Regions from separate parts of the Homo sapiens genome. Here regions 1 and 2 are each linked to region 3. The links are contacts of gene promoters, found by promoter capture Hi-C in blood cells and fetal thymus (Javierre and others, 2016). All regions are on one chromosome and are shown on one strand. The core of a region is centred on a gene start or on the middle of the fragment in contact, and the rest is flanking DNA. Distances in the headings are between cores, read along the strand shown.

Region 1 (2,700 bases), core at 125-2,624, 2.0 Mb after region 3:
GTACTCAGGATATCTCTCACTTTCTACAATACGCCGTTTTACAGCCCCCACATTCACTCTGCACCTATCTCTATCCCTTCATTAGTACTTTAGGTGAAAAAAGGTTAGTGCTTTTACTTTGTCAAATCTAAGATATTGCATAATGAAGTAGAATGATCTTTGATTTTTCTTCAGTGCTGTCTCAACATACTTTATTTTTTCTTCCCCTTAATTCAGAGACATGAAAAATGCTGTAATTGGAAACAACAAGCAGAAAGCCAATCTCATTGTTTTAGGAGCTGTTCCAAGGTATGTTTGCTGTCTCACCCCTTTCTTGCCATTCATACTAGTTTCTAATGTATTTCTTACTCTCAATTATAGAACCCATTTTTCCTGTATTGTCTGTCTAATTCTTAAAATAAATCCTATTTTTAAAAATAAATGTAAGTATTTAAACTATCTTTAAGGAAAAAAATTATAAAGTAACAGAGAATGTAGTAAGAAGTGAATGTGTTAATACATTTTGGAAACTCAGGAAGACCTTTGACCTGATGACAAAAGGGTTCGTAAAGTACATATGCAATGTACAACAGCCTGATACTTTCTTCTCCATTTCCTTAGAGCCTTGGCAGTTTTTTGTGTGAGTGGGTAATTTATTAGGAGCCTTAAGACCTTTTTGAATTTAAAGGAAAAAAACCCTGCTTGATTTTTAATCCAGTTTCATTTTTTAACTTCTGATTTTTACAACTTGCTGTTTTTTAAGTTAACGTAAGAAGTTTAGGAAGTTTAATTTCTTCTTTTGATGACCTAATAAGCTTCCTTTAGGCAGGCAATGACAGTTACATAACTTCCTCTTTACTTTTGCTCCTCAGAGCTAAGTTTTCTGTGCAATTGCTATTAGCTTTTCATTCAGAATTATTTATTATTTTGTTTTTTTCTCCTTATTTTCTGGTTTTGATACAGAATTAATGGTTTAAGTGTTTTAACTCACCAACCTCAAACATATACTTTAGTAACTATAAAGCTGTCAGCAGCCTTTCTTAGGGGATTTATGTTTGGTATATATAAATAGTGCTTTATGGAGCATGAGGGTCCTGTCTTAGAACATAAGGTAGATGGTTATAAGTGGAGGAAGGTTAGGGTTTGGGGAGTATTTGTTTGGCAAGCTGGGCTGGAGTGGAAATGAGAGGATCTCTTCCTTTTCCAAATGAGAGAGCTGGAGAAAGAAGAAACTACCTTTGCTTGAGGAGCTGCACAAGGGCTCTGAATATTCCCTATAGGCTCGATATCTACAAACTGCACCACTGCTCTGGATTCAGAGCAGTAGCATTTCTAGTTTGAGTTTAAGATCTGGCAGCACATGGCATTTGAGAGTCTTCATATTTTGGAGACCCAGCAGGAAGTGGTAGATGACATGGACTCTGATGACGCTGTTTCTACAGAGACTATCTGTGGACAACTTTCAGATTTACACTTTTTATAAACTCTAAGAATATGATAGTTCTTTTTTTCAAAACCTCTTCTAGATTTTTTTTCCAGATGTTTCTTTAATTAGCAGATGAGATAAACAAATGACCATTGGATTCATATAAACTCAGCCAACCATATTTTTAGTATGTGGACTGCACAGCCTTTTTTGGTCACATTGAGTCTTGTTTAAATTTTTTAGTCTCTTCGTTTATTAAGTTCCTTCTTTTTAGATTGTTGTACTTGCTTCAGCAAGAAACCTCAAGCACAGAGCTGAAAACTGAATGTGCAGTGGTGTTGGGAAGTCTTGCTATGGGTACTGAAAACAATGTCAAGTCTCTACTGGACTGCCATATTATCCCTGCCTTATTGCAAGGTATGTAGGGAAGCCATTTTTGCTCAATTAAGGTTAAGAATCAGTTTGCAGTGCTTTAAATACTGGTTGAAAGGATTAGTCCTAAATCTCATTTCTGTTAATAGGACTACTGTCCCCAGACCTGAAGTTTATTGAAGCTTGCCTCCGATGCCTGCGTACCATCTTCACCAGTCCTGTCACTCCAGAGGAGCTACTGTATACAGTGAGTTTTAGATGTATTTGAGACATTAGTTACATTTCACCAACAGCCTACTCCTAATTTGCTTAGCATCTTCAGACTCATCATAACTGTGTTATGTAAAAAAGTCTCAGTTGGTCATGGTGGCTCACACCAGTAATCCCAGTGCTTTGGGAGGCTGAGGTGGGAGGATTGCTTGAGGCCAGGAGTTCAAGATCAACCAGAGTGACATAACAAGACTCCATCTCTTTTTTTTTTTTTTTTTTTGAGGTGGAGTCTTGCTCTGTCACCCAGGCTAGAGTGCAGTGGCGCGATCTCGGCTCACTGCAACCTTCACCCTGCCAGGTTTAAGCATTTCTCTGCCTCAGCGTCTGGAGTAGCTTGGATTACAGGCGCGTGCCACCACACCCGGCTAATTTTTTGTATTTTTAGGAGAGATAGGGTTTCACCATCTTGGCCAGGCTGGTCTTGAACTCCTGACCTTGTGATCCACCCGCCTCGGCCTCCCAAAGTGCTGGGATTACAGGTGTGAGCCACTGCGCCCGACAACAAGACTCCATCTCTACAAGAAAAAAATAAAAATAAATTAGCCTGGTGCAATGGCTCATGCCTATAGTCCTAGCTCATGAGACTGCAGTGGAAGGATTGCTTGAGCCTAGGAGTTTGAGGTTATACTAAGCTATGATGGTGCCCCTGCACC
Region 2 (2,700 bases), core at 24-2,523, 2.2 Mb after region 3:
AGATCATTAAACATTGGTTACTGAAAGAAGCTAGTCATAGTCACAAAAGGCCACATGTTGTATGATTCCGTTTATAGAAAATGTCCTGAATAGGGAAATCCATAGAGATTGAAAGTAGATTAGTGGTTCCCAGAGGCGGAGGAAAGGGGTGAATGAGGAGTGACTGCTAACGGGTAGTTCTTTTTGTGAGGGGCAGGGGAGGGGAGTGGGAAGTGGTGAAAATGTTCTGGAATTAGCTCATGGTGATGGTTGCAAAACTTTGTGAATATGCTAAACACCACTGAATCGTACACTTTTTTTTTTTTGAGACAGCGTCTCACTCTGTTGCCCAGGCTAGAGTGCAGTAGCGCAATCTCGGCTCACTACAACCTCTGCCTCCCGGGTTCACGTGATTCTCCTGCCTCAGCCTCCCGAGTAGATGAGATCACAGGCACGTGCCGCCATGCCGGGTTGACTTTTGTATTTTTAGTAGAGACGGGGTTTCACCATGTTGCCTAGGCTGGTCTTGAACTCCTGACCTCAGGCGATTCACCCGCCTCGGCCTCCCAAAGTGTTAGGATTACAGGCGTGAGCCACCGCGCCCGGCTTGAATTGTACACTTCAAAAGGTGGAATTTTATGGTGTTGAATTATATCTTTATTTTTTTAACGGGGGGAAAATGACGCCGCTGGAGAGGAGTTAGCGGAACTGAAACAATGAAATGGTGCGCGAGTGTCGCCTGTCCCCGTCGCATCCATCCCAACGAAGTTTGGGCCCTGGAACGGTGCACCCAGAAGGCCTGCGGGGAGAGACGCTGGGGCATGATCTGGAAGAAAGACGTCTCAGGATTCGAAGGGAATGCAGCTAAGGTGGCGGCGGAGGTTCGCCTAGGACTGGGGAGGCGTCCCTAGGCTCAGAAGTTGGCCCGGCCGGAGCGGAGATTTAAAGGTTGGAGCGCAGAGGCTCTTAAAGAGGCCGAGTCGAATTCCCACTCGGCGTCCACCTTAAAGCCAGCTCCCCGGCACCACGGATCTGACCCGGGTAAGTGCTGGGCCGCGGGAGAGGCTGCGGCGCCGACCCCAGCCCCTGGCGCTCTAGCGCGCCCTGCCGGGCCCAGGGGACTCGGCGCGGGTGGGCTGGACTTCGTAGGCGCGCGTCCTGGGGGCCGGGGTGCACGCGGGGGCGACAGGGTCGAGGCACCCGGCCCGGGCTCCCCACTGGCGCGCCCGCAGCGGCGCTCTATTTTTAGCAGGCGCTGTGGCAATATAAGGAATGCGCGGCGCGCTAGGCGCTCGGGGCGCACGCTGGCGGCGCGGTCGCTTTAAGGAGGCGCCGGGGCGGGGACGGACCGGAGTGGCCGGCTGGCGGGGAGCCGTCAGTCCGGCGGCCGCGGGGCCCGGCGGGCGCGACGCTGCCTCCTCACCGGCGCAGGCTAGGAGGGGGCGGCCTGAGTGCCGTAGCCGAGCCGGGGCTGGAGCGCGCGGTGAGTGGTCGGGCGGCCTTGGAGGGGAGGGGGCCCGGCCGCGCCGCCTCTCGCCCCGGCCGTCGCTTTGTTCCGGGGCGGGAGGTGTGGCCGCCCTCCGGGCTCGGCCGCGCTCTCCGCTTGCGGGGTGCGCCCTGGGACCGGCTGTGCGTGGCGTTTTGCCCCCATCGCGGGCTCCCGCGTAACGGTGTGCGTTCGTGAAATCGGCCACGACCAAGACCCCAGTGGGGAGGGCCTGCGCGCCGCTCAGAGAGACCCTTTCATGGTAATTACAGTTCCTTGGCTGCCTGGGCGAGAACCCGGTGGATAGATGGGCGGCAGGACGGGGCGGCGGGGGATGGGTGGGTGGGTGGGGGACTCTTTACCCCCCCGCCTTAAGATGGCGTTAACGAGGGGAGGGATCCGCCAGGGAGTTGACAAATTCATCTGAATAATAAAACGCAGCCTGCTTCATAAACAACCCTTCACTGCCCCCGGAGGTTTGGGGAGCTGGAGCTGTGGTCACAACTAGGGCCTGGGCTCATGCATTGAACTGATCTGGCTGAGGCATCAGACACGGTGCCAGTCCTGCCCTGCGGGGAAGACAAGAGCACAAAGTGACAAGCCAGTGTGGTAAGTGCTGAGATTCGGTAAGCCCAGGGGTTGTGGGAGCCCCTAGGGGTCCCTACTGCAGAGTGGGAGGTGAGAGAAGGCCGCCTAGAGGAGTTAATGTCTGGCTGGCCGCAGCGTATACACTGGACACCCAGTTAGACTCTGGCTAGAGCTGAGGTCTGTTCTGGCCTGGGGCAAAGTGGAGTCTGGAGAGGTGGACAGAGTCCATCAAGGCCACTGGGGCCTTGATCATAGAGCTCTGCCATTGCCCCTACTCCCCAATGGCCCCTGATGGTGTGGAACCTCCCTGGCCTTGCTCCTCTAGGACTCACTCTGTCCTGGACCTGACCAGAGAGGGTGGCTGACAAGGCTCGGAATCGTGGCCTCCAGAGGTTTGTCTGGCAGCAGAAGTAAGATGGAGATATGACTTTAAGAGCTCTGAAACTCCACTGTAATAACAGCAACCAACAGGGCTTCCAAAGACCAGGCACTTGAAGTGGATTTGCTCATCATTTGACAAGACACCTCTTGACAAGACACCTCCAGAAGGATTTTGTTTATTGTAAAGGATGGAGGAACTGGGGTGAAAAAGAGCCAACAGCTTGCCCAAGATCATATCTGAAGTCCATGCTTTTGGCCACGTGGCT
Region 3 (2,700 bases), core at 64-2,563:
ATCTCAGTAAACGCCTTGGGGTCTCCGGGGTCGTAGTTGAGCACTAGGCGGCTCGCGGAAATGTAGAGAGCAGTAGCATTCACGGGGTTCATTGCAGACACTTCGACACCAATGGCTCCCGGTTGAAAAGAAATTCCGGATCCAACTTAGTAAGCAGCCAGGGAACGATGGCGAATTTGCAACAATTCGGAAGAAATCAGAGCCGAACCATTGGCCAAACAAGTAACCAAAATCCGTGCAAGTTTGTGGAGCTGAAACAATCCTCCCACACATGGGGCCTTGGCGCCCCTCCGTCCCTGAGACTTCCAGACCAAAAATATGAGAGAGAAACCAGCGTTCGAGTTCGTCCGGAGCGACCACAGAGCGCAGAACGCGGCGGCTTGGGCGCTCGGGGCGGGACTCGGAGCTCAGTCTAGCCCCGCGGCTCGGCAGGCGGCCTGCACTCGAGCTCCATCTCCGGACACGGAGGCGCCTCCTCAAGTCGAGCTGGCAGGCGCGGGAGCAGGCCCCGGCCCCGTCTGAGGCGCGGCACGCTTCTCCCGGGCTGCAGGGCCTCTTACTCCATCCCAGTACAGGGCGCGGAGGCGGCGGCGACGGCAAGGACGACGGTCGGGCAGCGGCTTCCCGGATCTAGTGCAAGACGCCGCGGCGGCGACGAAGGTTGATGTTGCGGCTGGCGGACGCCGCCGCCGCGCTCTCCATATCGGACGCGGGGCCCAGACTGCGCCCTGGCTCTCCGCCCCGTGGGTTGCAGCCCGCAGTTCCCCGAGGTGGCGAGGCGGGCGGGAGTCCTCAACCCGGAGGGGAAGGCCGGGGAGGAAGTGCGCGGGCCGCCGCCGGCGGGCGGGAGGGGGCGGGGGGCAAGCCCGGCCGGGCCGCGGCGGCGCCCCTCGCGCCTCAGTCGCACACTCCGGGGTCACCAGACTCAAGCGCCGCCCCCTCACTGCCCGGCCATTTTTTCGGCGCCACACACACAGACGACTCCTCCGCCGAGCACGACGGCCGCCGCCGCCCTCAGCACTCCCCGGCCGCGGAAGGCAAGCGCTCACACCGCCAGGCCCCGCCGCCGCCCAGCGCACACAGCAAGGCCCCGCCGCAGGCCCCTCCCCCGTGCCTCGCCGCCCTCACCCCGACTCCACGCGCCACTCCAGCTCGGTAGGGCCCGGGCTGCTGCGGCCTTAATGGATCCCGCGGGCTGTGTGGCGCCTCAGGCCTCTGCTGGCGGCGACGACGACCGTTACCCCAACGGGCAAAGCCACTGTCATCCCCGAGACTCCCCCGCCGCCGTCGTCGCTAGCGCTCGCACGCATGCGCAGAGCACACTCTCACCCCTCCCCCCTTTCCTCTCCCTTCGCTTCCCTTTTCCCTTGCTTCTCCTCTAACAACCCCCTCCACAGCCTCCCAGAGCTACCGGCTCACTCCACGCATGCGCAAGCTGCTACCTAGCTCCGCCGCCTTTCGCCCTTCCGCGTGCGCTTTGACCGCCCACCCAGAAAACCGGATAAACACATCAGCCTGCTCGCGCCAGTCCCTCACCGCTGCCAACCCACCCTGGGCTCACTGCGCATGCCTGGCTCTCCACTTCGACTCTCAGAATGGAGCATGCTCTCTGCGAGCCGACAGCTCTCTTCGCCCCTCCCCCACGTGCTCTCAAATTCCCTCTCCCAGGCATGTGGGCTGTGGTGAAACATTCGTTAGCTGGCACATCCTTCCCCAGTGTGGGCTGCAGGCTTCCCGCATTACACTGCTTCTGTGCCCGCCAACGCCGGGGCCCGACTTGGTAGCGCCATGTGGCGCTCTGCACTGGCCTGAACGCGGCCTCTCGTCCTGACTGACCGCGGTGTGAGGAAATAGCCGCGCCAGGCCCCAAGCCCCGCCCTCGCGGCCTTTCTCCTGGAACCGCTCATCCCGACCGCGGAAAGGGCGCAGCCTCGGCTGGCTGGCAGGCTCTCGCCGAGCCGGGAAGGCTGCAGTAGTCAACGTGGCTGCGCGCCCAGCAGGCGTGCGGACGGCTTTTGCCGGGTCGGGGCCGCGTTCCGCACCTCTCTGCGGTGGTTCGCAGTCAGAGGGCTCTAAGGCCCTGGCAGGCTGTATGTAAGCGTGGAGGCTCGAACCCACTGCCCCCTCCTACCCGTCGGACCCGCGCTGTTCCCACGGCCTCTGGCCCTTGGACTCGTGCGGCCTCACCTTCATGGGTGCCGATCAGGACTTCACCGAGCTCTCACCGGAACAGAGTCCTGTTTTAAAAACAAAACGAACTCCTTTTTTTTTTTTTTGAAAGACCTAGCTTTTTTAAAAGACCTAGCTCTTCTGTGTGAACAGATGTCTTGAAGAATGCGTGATCTTGCTCTAGAACAAACCCAAATCCTTGCAAATGTTTTGTTTTTTAAAACAAGCTTTTGCCTTTTGTTTTTGCAGGAGATCAAGGGCACTGGGATATAAATAAACAAAAGCCTGACTTAGTAGATGACTTCCCTCCCATCTCAAAGTACAAAACCTTTTTTTGAGTAGCACAAATAGTAACAGGCCATAGGAAGCATTTCTTATCTCTGTACACACCAAAGCTCCTCAGCATAATTTTTCATGCACAGTAGGTACTCTATACGTTTGCAAAGTGAAAATTATGATGCGTGTAAATCTATTGTGGCACATGTTACATATGTACACAGGCACGTATATGGAACATGTAAATGTGGTACG

What was found. The method cuts DNA at HindIII sites, captures the fragments that hold promoters and counts their contacts. A CHiCAGO score of 5 or more calls a contact.
Region 1: a fragment that was not itself captured here is called in contact with the fragment with the promoter of MSL2 in region 3 in 7 of 17 cell types (M1 macrophages, M2 macrophages, naive CD8 T cells and 4 more); the score reaches 7.8 in M1 macrophages.
Region 2: a contact is called between the fragment with the promoter of MRAS here and the fragment with the promoter of MSL2 in region 3, in 2 of 17 cell types (M0 macrophages and M2 macrophages). The highest score is 6.0, in M0 macrophages.

The regions. Positions count from the first base shown.
Region 1 is chr3:138,221,710-138,224,409 of GRCh38, forward strand. ARMC8 (armadillo repeat containing 8) reads left to right here. Exons shown (of 22, transcript NM_001363941.2): 3 at 217-288; 4 at 1,680-1,822; 5 at 1,927-2,024. Among named protein-coding and RNA genes, the nearest start is that of ARMC8, 36 kb to the left of the region's middle. The HindIII fragment of the contact is 1,165 bases long and covers 793-1,957 here.
Region 2 is chr3:138,347,306-138,350,005 of GRCh38, forward strand. MRAS (muscle RAS oncogene homolog) reads left to right here and starts at 1,274. Exons shown (of 6, transcript NM_001085049.3): 1 at 1,274-1,462. RefSeq lists an enhancer at 786-1,741. The HindIII fragment of the contact is 4,446 bases long and covers 1-2,700 here.
Region 3 is chr3:136,195,022-136,197,721 of GRCh38, forward strand. MSL2 (MSL complex subunit 2) reads right to left here and starts at 1,314. Exons shown (of 2, transcript NM_018133.4): 1 at 1-1,314. The coding sequence starts at 92. RefSeq lists enhancers at 102-171, 222-271, 271-1,017, 322-391, 1,018-1,764 and 2 more and a silencer at 732-1,121. The HindIII fragment of the contact is 2,546 bases long and covers 1-2,394 here.